2 separate regions of the Homo sapiens genome follow, and region 1 is linked to region 2. The links are contacts of gene promoters, found by promoter capture Hi-C in human tissues and cell types (Jung and others, 2019). All regions are on one chromosome and are shown on one strand. Each heading gives the region's core, a stretch centred on a gene start or on the middle of the fragment in contact. The rest is flanking DNA. Distances are from core to core; before and after follow the strand shown.

Region 1 (6,723 bases), core at 4,070-6,569, 380 kb after region 2:
GAGTCCAATCAGTGCACCAAACAATACAAACACTTTATGAATGAATGGTCTCATAACTGCTGAGCAATGCTCAAGCTTTATTTAAACATTCAAGATTACCAGACTATGAAAATGAAGAGGGGGCTATACCACAAAGAAACCTAAAAATCTAAGACGGTAAAACTTGAAAAGTGCTTGCCTATAAAGCATTAAGTATATCCCTTAGGGCTTAAGTGATGAATAAAGAGCATGTGAGAAAGGTTAAATTCAATCACAACAGAGGAACATACGTGTTTTATGTTGCAATTTGAAAAGTTAATCACCTATTACTTTTGGACTAATGATTATTTTAAAAAATATAGGTACTGGAAATCATAATTTTTTAAAGTCTTTTTGTTTTACATGATCTAAATTAAAACTAAAAACATTTTAATCATTCTATTCTGGATTCATTAGTTATGACTTATAGCACTTAGTTTAATACCCACTCTTTTCTGATAGGGACCCTGTCTCGATCTTCTCTAAGAGAGAATGTAGCTGGGAGGGTGGTCTTAATTCATTTTCACCAAGTATACCCTCAGAATTCTTGACATAGTCCTGTTCTCTGTTAATGTCATAAATGCTAAAATGAAGAAAGAAAAAAAATCATAAAGTGAACAATTCTATTTATAGCATATTTACTATAGAAACAAATGTTCGCTGAGTAATTTGTATTAGGAATAATTATGTAATATTTATTTACCTCCTTTGACAAGTATTCTCAGCTAAGGACTTAATTTGTTCTATAAGCTATAACACATAATCTGAAATGTTTTTCCTCCAAAAGTCTTTAACTTCTAAAGAAAATTTTGTACACAGAAATATATTATGCTTAATCGCTTTTGCCTTACTGAAAAAAAATCTTTCAAAATGAAGAGATCACAGAACCACATCTTTATTCCACTAGTTGAAAATAACGGAATCAAGCAGAACACAATTTACAAAAATCTCTCTCCTCCCCCAAATTAGTTGTATATATATTCATTAAACAAAACTATTAGTGGTGACTATTATGCATCCAATATCATGCTAAATCTTGGATTTATCAAGACAAATGGCAAACAGTCTCTATTACAGGGAAACAGGCTCTACATTAAAAAAGTTCAGATTAGGCTGGGCGAGGTGGCTCATGCCTGTAATCCCAGCACGCCGGGAAGCTAAGGCAGGCAGATTGTTTGAACTCAGGAGCTTGAGACCAGCCAGGGCAACAAAGTGAGACCCCACCTCTATAAAAAATACAAAAATTAGCCAGGCATGGTGGAGTGCACCTGTAGTCCCAGCTACTTTGGAGGCTGAGGTGGGACGATGGCTTGAGTCTGGGGGGAAGAAGTTGCAGTGAGCTGAGATTGCACCCCTGAACTCCAGCCTGGGTAACAGAGCCAGACCATGTCAGAAAGAGAGAAAGAGAGGAAAGGAAAGAAAGGAAGGAAAGGAAGGAAGGAAGAAAGGAAGGAAAGGAAGGAAGGAAGGAAGGAAGGGAGGAAGGGAGGGAGGGAGGGAGGGAGGAAGGAAGAGATAGAGAAAGAGAGAGAAAAGGAGAGAAAGAAAGAAAAAGAAAGAAAGAAAGAGAAAGAAAGGAAAGAAAGAGAAAGCAAGCAAGTTAGCTCAGAATAGACAAGGAAGAAAAATCTGCAAAGAAATTAGTACTATAAATGTGTAGGAGTATCTAAAACATGATATAGTGGATGTACAGTGATACAACCAATTTTATGGAGATGGAGCTATGTCAAGAAAGATTTCATGGAGGCACAGATACTTGAAATCTGGAAGATATTCCAATGAGGAAGCCAAAAAAGGAAACTAGTGTACATTTTCTAGATAGCAGAAATAGTATGAGCAAATGAACAGCGGTTTAAACATGATACATTAAAGGAACTGCAAATAGTTTAATATGACTGATTAAGGGAAGAAGGGAGAGAAGAATAAGAACGAAGAAAAAGATTACAAAGGTGGTCAAGTTTTCAGTTTTTATCATGAGTCTGTGGAATAAGGATTTTCATATGCTTCACAAAAACAGCATGTATAGTTTTACAGCACATTTTCCCCCCAAAAAGAACTGGAGGTAGAATTGTGTGGATACATTCAAAATTTTTTAGGAAAAGTAGCTATGTTGATAATAATTCATGAAGGAGGTTGTTTATGTAGGGGAAAATTAGGAATAGGGAGACCAGGGTTCTGGTCTACCTATTGAACTCACTAGGTGCTACCACTAATGTGTTTTGAGACAGTGGTTAAAGACACATTGGATTGACTTCCCAACAATCATGTCCCTTTTACTTCCCTTCCATAAAACCACAATTTTGTTCAGGTATCAGGTTATCCCATGGTTCAGAAGAAGTGTGTGTGTGTGTGTGTGTGTGTGTGTGTGTGTGTGTGTGTGTGTGTGAAAATGAGTGAGGGAGAGTGAGTATGTGTGTGTGTGGGGTTGGGGGGGGAGACAGAGAGAGAGAGAGAGAGAAAGAGAATGAGAATCTTAATTACTCTAAGATCATTATGGTAATTCCACTCCCTTTGAATAGTGTTTGTTTTAGGAATAAACATGTGACTCAGTTCTGGCCAGTGAGATATAAATGGAAGTCTACAGAGAGAGTTCTGGGAAACCTTTCTTAGAAAAGGACTCCATCTTCTAGCCTAGGATCTTGTCTGAAGATGTGTTGCCTGGATCTCCTTGCAACCAAGATGGCAGCCAACATAGAACGGAACAGAACAGAAAGAAACTAGATCCCTGAACTGATGAAATAAACTAACCTGGGGGCTGCCTCATCTTTGGGCTTTATACATGAAATAATAAATGTTCCTTATTGTTTAAACTTTTATTGGAAGCTGAAGACATACTAACTGATGGATTTTGTTAAATTTATACTCTCTAAGGCCTCCTTTAGTTATAATTGCCTTTCTAAAGCTCCTTTCAGTTGTGACTCTACAAGGAACTTTACTGAAGGCTTGCTGTGCATGAGGCATGGTGCACTGGCATCAGATAACTTAGCAAATTCCTTTTTTCTTTGCTGCCATGGATAGAGACGTTATCCTAGTATTTGTTAGCAAGGAAGCTATTGTTATTAATGATAACAATGGCTAACATTTGTTGGGTGCTTACTTTTTTTTTTTTGAGACGGAGTCTTGCTCCGTGGCCCAGGCTGGAGCGTAAGTGGCTTGATTCTGGTTCACTGCAACCTCCACCTCCCGGGTTCAAGCAACTCTCTTGCCTCGGCCTCCCGTGTAGCTGGGATTACAAGTGCCCAGCAACATGCCCGGCTAATTTTTGTATTTTTAGTAGAGATGGGATTTCACCATGTTAGCCAGGTTGGTCTCGAACTCCTGGCCTCAAGTGATCTGCATACCTCGGCCTCCCAAAGTGCTGGAATTACAGGCATGAGCCACCGTGCTAGGCCTAGGTTTCACTACTTAACTGTATGTATTAATCATTGCTGAGCCATACTGTGTAGTCAAGTTCTTTCCTTATACCGTGTTTTGCTTTTCTGAATTTAAAATAGCTTAATTTTCAGTTACCAATCATTATTTCAGCTTGAAATTCTAGAGAACTAACAATATCCTCTGGATAAAGATAGATCAAAGATTTTGTCTGTTTTGAGCAGCTTCTTTTCTTTTTTTTGGAAGGACCTTTCTGGAGCACTATGTCTTCCAGCTTCAATCTGGGCTTGTGCCCTCTGATATTACTGCCTGGCTTTCTAACTTTGCTGGGGGATGTTAAGACACAAAATTGATCTACAGATTCAACACAATCTCAGTTTGCAGAAACTGATGATCTGATTCTAAAATTTATATAAGAAAGATATAAGCCAAAACAATTTTGAAAAAGAACAAAGCTGAAGGACTCACTACCTGATTTTGAGAATTACTACAAAGCTAAAGTAGTCAAGACAAGGTGGTAATGATACAAAGAAAATGCATATAGATCAATGGAACAGAATAGAGTCCAGATAACAGATTTTCAATATTGCCAGTATAATTCCATTGAGAAAGAATATCTTTGCAATAAATGCTGCTACAGAACAACTAAAACGGAGGAAAAAAACATGAACCTCAAACCTCTACCTTAAACCATAAAATTTAACTCAAAATGAATCACAGACCTAAACATAAAAACTATAACTATTTGGCTAAAATTATAAAATTTAAAAAATCATAGGAAAAAATGTACTTGACTATGGGGTACATAAAGTTTTCATAGGGCACAAAATTAGTGACCTAGAAAAATGTATACATCAGACTTCCTAAAAATTAAAACCATCTGATCTTCCAAGGTATCATTATTAAGAAATGGGAAATATTTGTAAAGTACCTGTACCTAGAATATATAAAAAACTCATAGACACATTTCACAAAATAAAGCATATAATAAAAAGAAACATGGGAAATGGGTCAATATTATTAGTTATCAGGGAAGTGCTAATTAAAACCACAATAAAATACTACTGCTCCAGTAGAATGGCTAAAAAGACTGAAAATACCAAGCGTTGGCAAGGATGAGGAGCCTCTGGAACACTCCTAGTAGAAATATAAAGCCAACTGAAAAATTATATAGCCAATTTAAAAAATAACATCAGTTTCTTATAAACACATACTTACCATATGACCCAAAATTCTATTCCTAGATATTTACCCAAGAGAATAAAACATATCCACAAAAACACTTGCACATGAATGTTCAGAGCAGCTTTTTCACAGTAGCCTAAAACTGGAAGCAACTCCAATATTCATCAATAGGTGAATGGATAAACTTGTATATTCACACATAATAATAATCAGCAATTAAAAAAAGTAAAACTGATATATGCATGCATCTCAAAACATTAAACTGGGCAAAAGTCATCAGACACAAGAGTACATACTGTAAAATTCTATACATATACAGTTCAAGAAGCAGCAAAATTAATCTATAGTGATAAAAAGCATTTCATTAGTTGCCTACAGCAGGGGGCAGGAATAGGAAAATTGACTACAAGTGGGGTATGCACAAGGGAACTTTCTGGGGTGATGGACACACACTATTTTTATTGGTGTAGTCATCACATGGTATATACATTTACCAAAATTCACTGAACTATATACTTAAATTATGTTCATTTTATTGTATGAAAATTAGACCTCAATGAAGTTGAGCTGAAAGCCCCAAAACAAAACCTAATGGTTATGAATTTGGCCACAAAGGAAATTCCAAGAGTACTAAAAAACAACTGATCTCTGACCAAAATCAAGTAAAATGACAATGTAACCATAAAAAGTTAATCTCAAAAGCCTCATGTTTGGAAATTTAAATTTTAAAAATCCTACATATAAATGGTTCATAAGTTAAAGAGTAACATGATCTAAGCTTAAGATATTATCTAAAATAGCTATAAGAAACTGTTCATTTCAAATGTATACACTACAAAAGAAAAACATTTAAAGAATCAATAAGCTACGGTCAATTCAAGAACTCAGAAAATGGAACAACACAGTAAACCCAAAGCAAATAAGAGGAGGAAATAAAAAGAGAAGATCAGATATTAATTAAACCGAAGAAAAAATAGCTGAAAAAAGATTAGCTTTTTGACAAAAAATATTGATATATCTTTAGTCAAATTAATCAAGGACAAAACAAGGCACTGAAAACCAACATTACAAATAAAAAGGAGTGTGATTTATATGTACTATAAATTATAAGGGTAATAGAAACAATTTTTATAGAAAAAATTGAAATCATAGAGAAAACAGGGGAATTTTCCAGAAATAATTTATCAAAACCTACTTAAGAAAACAGAATATACCTACAACTATTAAATAAGTGGTAGAGTTAGTTGTTATAGGTATGTAAGTCTCAAGCCCAGAAGTTTTCCCACATAAACATTATTCTCAAGAATAAAAACTTTCTTTTTTTTTTTTTTTGAGATGGAGTCTCACTCTGTCACCCAGGCTGGAGTGCAATGGTGTGATCTCGGCTCACGGCAACTTTCGCCTCCCAGGTTCAAGTGATTCTCCTGCCTCAGCCTCCCGAGTAACTGGGATGACAGGCGCCCACTACCAGGCCCAGCTAATTTTTGTATTTTTAGTAGAGATGGGGTTTCACCATCTTGGCCAGGCTGGTCTCAAACTCCTGACCTCAGGTGGATCCACCCACCTGGGCCCCCCAAAGTGCTGGGATTACAGGTGTGAGCCACCACGCCTGGCCAAGAATGAAAACTTTCTCAAATTATAAGTCTAGCACAACCTTGAATGAAAACCCAGAAAGGAACAACTATAAAAGAACATTTTAAGGTAACATCACCAATGACAACACATGCAAAAAAATCTTAAATAAAAACATCAGAGGCCGGGCGCGGTGGCTCACGCCTGTAATCCCGCACTTTGGGAGGCAGAGGCGGGCGGATCACGAGGTCAGGAGATCGAGACCATCGTGGCTAACACAGTGAAACCCCGTCTCTACTAAAAATACAAAAAATTAGCCGGGCGTGGTGGCGGGCGCCTGTAGTCCCAGATACTCGGGAGGCTGAGGCAGGAGAATGGCATGAACCCGGGAGGCGGAGCTTGCAGTGAGCCGAGATTGTGCCACTGCACTCCAGCCTGGGTGACAGAGTGAGACTGTCTCAAAAAAAAAAAAAAAAAAAATCAGAAAAACCTAAACTAGCAATATATATAAAATATAAAACAACATGATTGAGATAAAGCTTATGCCAGGAATTCAAGGAAGGAAGGTGTAACATT
Region 2 (6,647 bases), core at 2,268-4,767:
ACTCAACCATACTACTCCCCCAACCCATTCATGTAATTTCCCCGGAATCCTCTTCTCATTATTTCCTTGCTTTCCTCCTTTTATGTTAATTTTATTTACAGTTTTAGTTAATCTATTCCTTAAAAAGTGTGTATTCTTTATTTTCGCTATATTAAGCATTTAATATACAATAGTTTGTTCATTAATTCTCCCCACCGCAACTACTGAAATGTAATAAGTACATTAATAAGACTGCCAAGACCCAAACTTACCCTAATTAACGTTGACATTATTACTTAGACAACATAACACATTTATTTCATTAGGTCTGCTGCCAGGTAACAAAAAGCTGTACTTTGTAACAACTGGATATACCATAAGAAGCCAGGATCAAAAGTAAATACAAATTGCTGGTTTTTATAACTTTAAAATATTTGCTATTTCCTTCCTTTTTGTGGCAACACTTCCCTTTGAGCAACCCACGTTTCATATATGCTACATTTTTTCTTAGGAAACATAACAAACATGGTTCTGCCAGAAGGAAGAATGGTGAGTTTTCAAGATTCCACCCAAGCTGGAAAGTATTTTTTTAAAACATGTGCAACTGGCAGGAAAAAGAACATGGAAGAGTCTTCTCAGAAGCACCCCACCTACTTATCTTTCAAGTGCATCTCAGAAGCCTTTAGTGACTATTGCCCCCACATAAAACTAACCCCCCCCAACTGGTTTCCTCAAGCATACTCAGATCACAGCAACCTTGGCAAGTTATGCTGCCTATTGTTTCACACAGCGGTTTCTTCCTGCAGTGTAAGCCCCCTAAAGGCAGGGGTGTTTCTTATGTTCAGCTTTGTATCTCTAGCTCAGCACCATGCTTGAACATTGTTAAGTGGCTCTATTAATATTTTTTAAATGTGTTAGTGAATGGATGAAAAATGTTAGTGCACCTATTTAAATCACATTATTATGAAACAGTGAGATCTGCAGATCTGCTTTTTAAGCACATAACTTATGATAAGTAGGATAAAATTTAAATTGCAAACCATAATTAAGGAGAAAAAAACTACCACCACCACACAACCAATAACGAGTCAAGGTCTGAGTTCTGAGCACCTAAAGAGGCAGGCTTGTTAGCAAGAAATATTTCTATCACTAAACAGATATTCATGCATCATAAAACAAAGCATGCCTCTTTGAAGCCTAAAGAATATGGCAAGACCGGGCCCAGTGGCTCACGCCTGTAATCCCAGCACTTTGGGAGGCCGAGGCAGGAGGATCACTTGAGATCAGGAGTTCGAGACCAGCCTGGCCAACATGGTGAAACCCCGTCCCTACTGAAAATACAAAAATTGGCCGAGCATGGTTGCGAGCGCCTGTAATTCCAGCTACTCAGGAGGTTGAGGCCAGAGAACCATTTGAACCTGGGAAGTGGAGGTTGCAGTGAGCCGACTTACACCGCTGCACTCCAGCCTGGACTATAGAGTGAGACTCTGTCTCAGGAGAAAAAAATATATGTATATAAATATATATATAAAAATATATAAATATATATAAATATATAAATATTTATATATTTATATACATATATATGGCAAATATACCCAGAAAGGAACAGGAGGGGTGGTGCACTTTGGTGTCCGCAAAAAATACAGCTTAAAAAGCATCTACCTCAAGTATAAGATCTACCATGACTTTCTAAAGAATTAAAAAAAAATTTTTCCCATACCTCCATCTGACGCCCTTGTCAGTTTAATCTTTCCATTCAATCCCACCCTCTGGCTGTTACCAAAATGCCATAGGCTAGTATTGCAAACACAGTCCACTACAGTCACCTGTAATTTAGGCGAATAACAGAACTTCCTTCACTATTGACTATTATGAAAGGTTTGAGAGATGACTAGCCTGGGATCATCTGTTCCCTGCTGGGAGGAGGTCTGAAAAATTCATAGGCAGGGGAGAATGGGAAGGTAAGTTAAAACAAACCAGGTAAAAAGAAATCCACTTTAAATAAAGCTGCATTTGGAAGTGTACAACAATTCTCTCAAGAGCCTCCAGAAAGGCTGCCTTTGGTTCCGCAGAGCTCCACAACCGCACAACCTGCTCTGTTATAAACTGGACAGCACGCAGCACCTTGCTTAACTAACTCTAAAAATAAAGCCCTCTCGTTTAGCTCACTAAACTGTTACCCCATATTCCCTAAAAGCTGTCATTACGATCAAAATGTCTGCAGCCTTTACAACTAAAAATGTGGAAACTTGTGTTGCATCCTTTTAAAAACTCCATCTGCTGCGGGGAGCCAGTGCACATCTACCCATCTATTTGAGTATATGCGAATCTTGCCCTTATCTAGAATATCCTATTTCCCATCCATATGCCTGGCTCTAGCAAAATAAGGACCCTCAATGGCGCTTCTTTACTGCTTCTCAAGAAACCTCCATGTTCTGACCTGACTACTCCTGGAAACACAGCAGCCCCTCCTCAAACCTTTCTTTCTGCCTAACCTGCAGCTTCCAGAACGCACTACGGGGCTTCGCTTCTGCTACTTTCGCACTTACTTCCTCCGCCGGCAGCCTTTTTCCCACCTCTCACATCTAACAACGTACCTTCAAGACTCAACATAAGCATGACCTCCTCTCTCAAGAGAGGTCCTTCCAGACCCCACTTGCGTTTCTCAAATCAACCCGGGCCTGGGTTTTCACGCCTGCTTTCCCAGAAACCAAACTCCTGCAAGCAGGGGCAGAACCTCATTCCACCTGCATTCTCCGATCATTACACATTCTCGGGGCAAGAGGCGAAGCTCAAAGACTGCCTGGGGTCGGACGTGAGCGCTGAAACACCGCTCAAACTGCACGAGCCGAGGCGACGCCGGGGTTAGGGCTGCATTCCTGTCCCGGGCAGCTCCGGAGTCTGAGAAACGCCAACGTCTGCACTCCCAGTTCTGAGACCCCGGGAGGAACCGGCTCCGAGCCCCAGAGAGGGGCAACCGTGCAGGGCCAGGGGGGACACGCTACGGGCTACTCGGTTCTGGTGACCAGACAATTTCGTCAGGATGCGGTGCACGAGACGGAGAAGAAACGCTCTTCAGCACCAAACAGCCCGAGGCAGACATGAGGAGGAGGAGGAGGAAGGGAAGAGGGAGAAGGTCAGGGCCAGGGTCACCAGAGGCGGCGGCGGGCGGAGGGTACCGGGCCGCAGCCGCGTGGAGAGACCAGCGCCCGCCGCGGGGACTGAGACCCTCGGAGGCTCCGGCTGCGCTGGCCCGGCCTCCGCCCCTCGCGACGGGCCTAAAGCCGCGGGCTTGCGTCTAGCGCCTCCCGGGAAGGCGCGCCCGCCTCAGGTCCCGCCAGGCCACCCACCCGGGGCCGCCGGGGCGCCACTTACCCGGCCCGCCCGGCCGACTCTGCCCATGAGCCGCGCCGGCGGCAGAGCGGAGCCGGGCGGCACTCCGCGGAAACCCGCCAGCGGCAGGAGGCCTCGGCGGCGCCCACCCTTCGCTGAGTCCTCAGGGCGCTCGGCGGCGCGGGGTCAGGGAGCGCGGGCTGCCGGGAGAGCGCGCCCGCGCCTGCGCCCCGCCTGCGCCTGCGCCTGCTTCGGCCTCTGCGCCTGCGCCGAGGGCGCCTTGCCGCACTGCCCCCTGCCCGCGGGAGGACCGCACTGCACGCTCCCCTCCGCCGGCGTCTTCTTACCATCAAGAGGTGTCGCCCTGGCGCACATTTTCGAAATTCCACAAGGCTTGGGGAGCGCGGCAGCGCCCCCAGATGGTGAGGAGGAGAAGTGGTCCGAGGCCGGGCTTTCTGATAGGGGAGGTGGGGGAAGTCCCTCCAGGCCCCTCGATCTCATTCATTCAAAGCCACTCCTATATAAGCAAAAAGTTGAAAATAAGTCTGCATAGGCCAGATGCTGCAAAAGGATGGCAAGGAGCACGAGGTTAAGCGTAAGATTATGGAAACAGATGCCGCGATTAGGGGTACAGAAAAGAATGTCAATGCTATAAAGCCTCGGTCTTTAAAAACGACGTCGCTGACAGAAGCAGGGAGGGAAAGGGAAAGTGGGACTTCGGGTAAATATGATTTTTACATCTGTAATTAATTGGGTGTCAAATAGAGTTCAAGCCGATAAATCAAATAGTAGAGATTTAAGCAGACGTCTTAGTCCGAAGGAGTATACCAAGAAAGTTACTATAATCCATTAAAATCCAGTCATTAAGAAAACGGGAAAAGGGGGAAAAAAGAAATACAGTGGAGAGACAAAAGACAATCTAAAGAAATAGAGGATTAAGGACGTCATGGGATGGTATGATTCTGAGGGTAACCCAGAACAAAACTACAAAGCTTTCAAATAATCCACACATACATGCACCCACACATACATGCATGCACACACACACACACACACACAAAACCACAGCAAAAAAAATATATATATAGGGAAATATTTTAAAAAGTTACAAAACAGAAAGCGTAACCAAACTATATGACAGAACAAGACCAAATGTCTCACAAGAAGAAATATAGACCTAAGCTTACCTACTAAAAAACTACAATCTCAGATAGGAGCACAAACCATCATGCAACTCAGTGTTGTATACAAGAAAGTGCTAACGTTATTCTGAGTTTGAAAATACAAGATTGGAAAAGATATACCAGGAATATGCAAAAAAATTAAAAAAATCAGGAATCACAAACCGCTTACTACAAAGTTGATTTCAGGGCAAAAAGCATTAAGTAAGATTAAGAAGGACATTTTATAATCTTGAGGAGCACAATTCACAATCAAGAAAAAAATAGGAAAAATAGGAAAATCTTTGCACCAAATCACATAATCTCATTATTCATAGCAAACACTGTAGGAGTGAGTGAATAGACAGAAATAATTGGCACACTCCTTGCCAGACGAAGAGTACAAAAAGTAAATGGGGATTGAGAAGACCTAAAAATACAATTCCTATGATAGATCTAATATATCAAACACTGTCCCCTAAATAGACATTACATCTTTTCCAGTGTCTAAGGAATATTCACAACAATTAGTCATATTTTAAACCACAGAGAAAAATCTTAACATAGTCCAATAAGTAGAATCATATCGGTAATATTATCTGCAGCAATTCAATAAAAGTAGAAATTAATGAAAAAACAGAAAATAAAACATGCCTACCCCTTGAAAATTTTTAAATGCTTAAATAACACTTGGACTAAAAAGGAAAACAAAATCAAAATAACATAATATCTAGAAAAGTATGAAAATGACATACTCATGGGATTTAGCTCAGAGAGTACTAAGAGGAAAATTCATGGTTTTAAGTTTTTGTATCAATTAAAAACTTGGAAAAAGCTAAATGAATTAAGCACTTGTGCAAGAAACTGGAAATAAAATAAAAATGTGAGAAGCAGAAGGACGTACTTGGTCAATAAAAGAAGCAGAAAGTAATAGCGTGTAAACAGAAAAAGGAAGAAGGGCAAAGATAGAAGGTGTCTAGACTGGGTCTCTCCCCACCCCGTGATCAAAGCACCGGTGGGGGTGCAAAAGCCCTGATTAGGAGGTCCAGAGCTGCAGGACTTCCTCCAGGTTGAACCTGCTGTCTACCTGTACTCCCTAATCTGCTTGGCGTCTCCACTCTGCAGTCTGAGACCACTCCTTCCTCCCTTTTTGGTTGAAAATTTGTGCCTTTGTTCCCAAATCATTCCATCATACATACACAAGTAACTTTTTGGTTTACAGACCATAGATGCAATCACATCCATTGTTTAGGAATTTTCTAGTTTAACTTCCAGGAGGAAAACTGCCTTACTTCATTTCCTAGTACGTGAGCAGTCTCATGCTTGCCTCCATTTCCTGTCAATAGTAACAAATATCATCTTTATTTTATGCACCGAGAATCCAAAGCTTAACCCAATGGGGGAACAGAACCCAGGCCATGCAACTATCAGAAAGCGCACACAAAACGGTGGAGCTTTAGAAGAGGGACAAGACAGACGCGCTGGAGCGCCCCCTCGGGGCTGCAGAGCAAACATCGGTAGTGACTCCTGCGTAAACAAGTCGTGTGATCTGCTCCAGCTGTGCTCAGCGCCTGGCAGGAGGCTGGCAGGCAGCAGATGGTAGAATTCATCGGAAACTGGGAATTAGCAGGGCAGATGTTCCAGGAAGAAAGAAGATAAGGGCGGTGTTTGGGCTGGCAGGAAAGGCTGGGTGAAATGCTACAGTATGCAGCATGGATGGAACCGGGGGACCCCGAAACAGGAAAAGAAAGGGGTGTGGGCCCTGGAGGGAAGACAAGCTAGTTAAGACAATTTGATCAGATTATAATTTGATCAAAAACAAGTATTCCCAAGGATTCTGTGTGTAGGGATGCTTTCGGTGCACCGTGGAGAATGATTTTTGTCTCCTTTTTTGTATCTTTTTTTTTTTTTTTTTTTTTGAGACGGAGTCTTGCTCTTGTCACCCAGGCTGGAGTGCAATGGAGTAATCTCAGCTCACTGCAACCTCCGCCTCCCGGGTTCAAGCGATTCTCCTGCCTCAGCTTCCTAAGTAGCTGGGATTACAGGTGCCCGCCACCATGCCCGGCTACTTTTTGTATTTTTAGTAGAGACGGGGTTTCACCATGTTGGCCAGGCTGGTCTCGAACTCCTGACCTCCGGTGATCCGCCCACCTCGGCCTCCCAAAGTGCTGG

The links. Contacts are between HindIII fragments. The study calls those that stand out against the background at their distance.
Region 1: a fragment that was not itself captured here is called in contact with the fragment with the promoter of RBM17 in region 2 in 1 of the 25 tissues and cell types used here (adrenal gland).

Annotation. Positions count from the first base shown.
Region 1 is chr10:5,703,408-5,710,130 of GRCh38, reverse strand. The region is part of intron 1 of TASOR2 (transcription activation suppressor family member 2); the gene reads right to left. Among named protein-coding and RNA genes, the nearest start is that of TASOR2, 22 kb to the right of the region's middle. The HindIII fragment of the contact is 5,209 bases long and covers 2,715-6,723 here.
Region 2 is chr10:6,085,904-6,092,550 of GRCh38, reverse strand. RBM17 (RNA binding motif protein 17) reads right to left here and starts at 3,517. Exons shown (of 12, transcript NM_032905.5): 1 at 3,358-3,517. RefSeq lists silencers at 2,786-2,845, 3,116-3,205, 3,216-3,655 and enhancers at 2,021-2,859, 3,816-3,865. The HindIII fragment of the contact is 7,744 bases long and covers 1-5,180 here.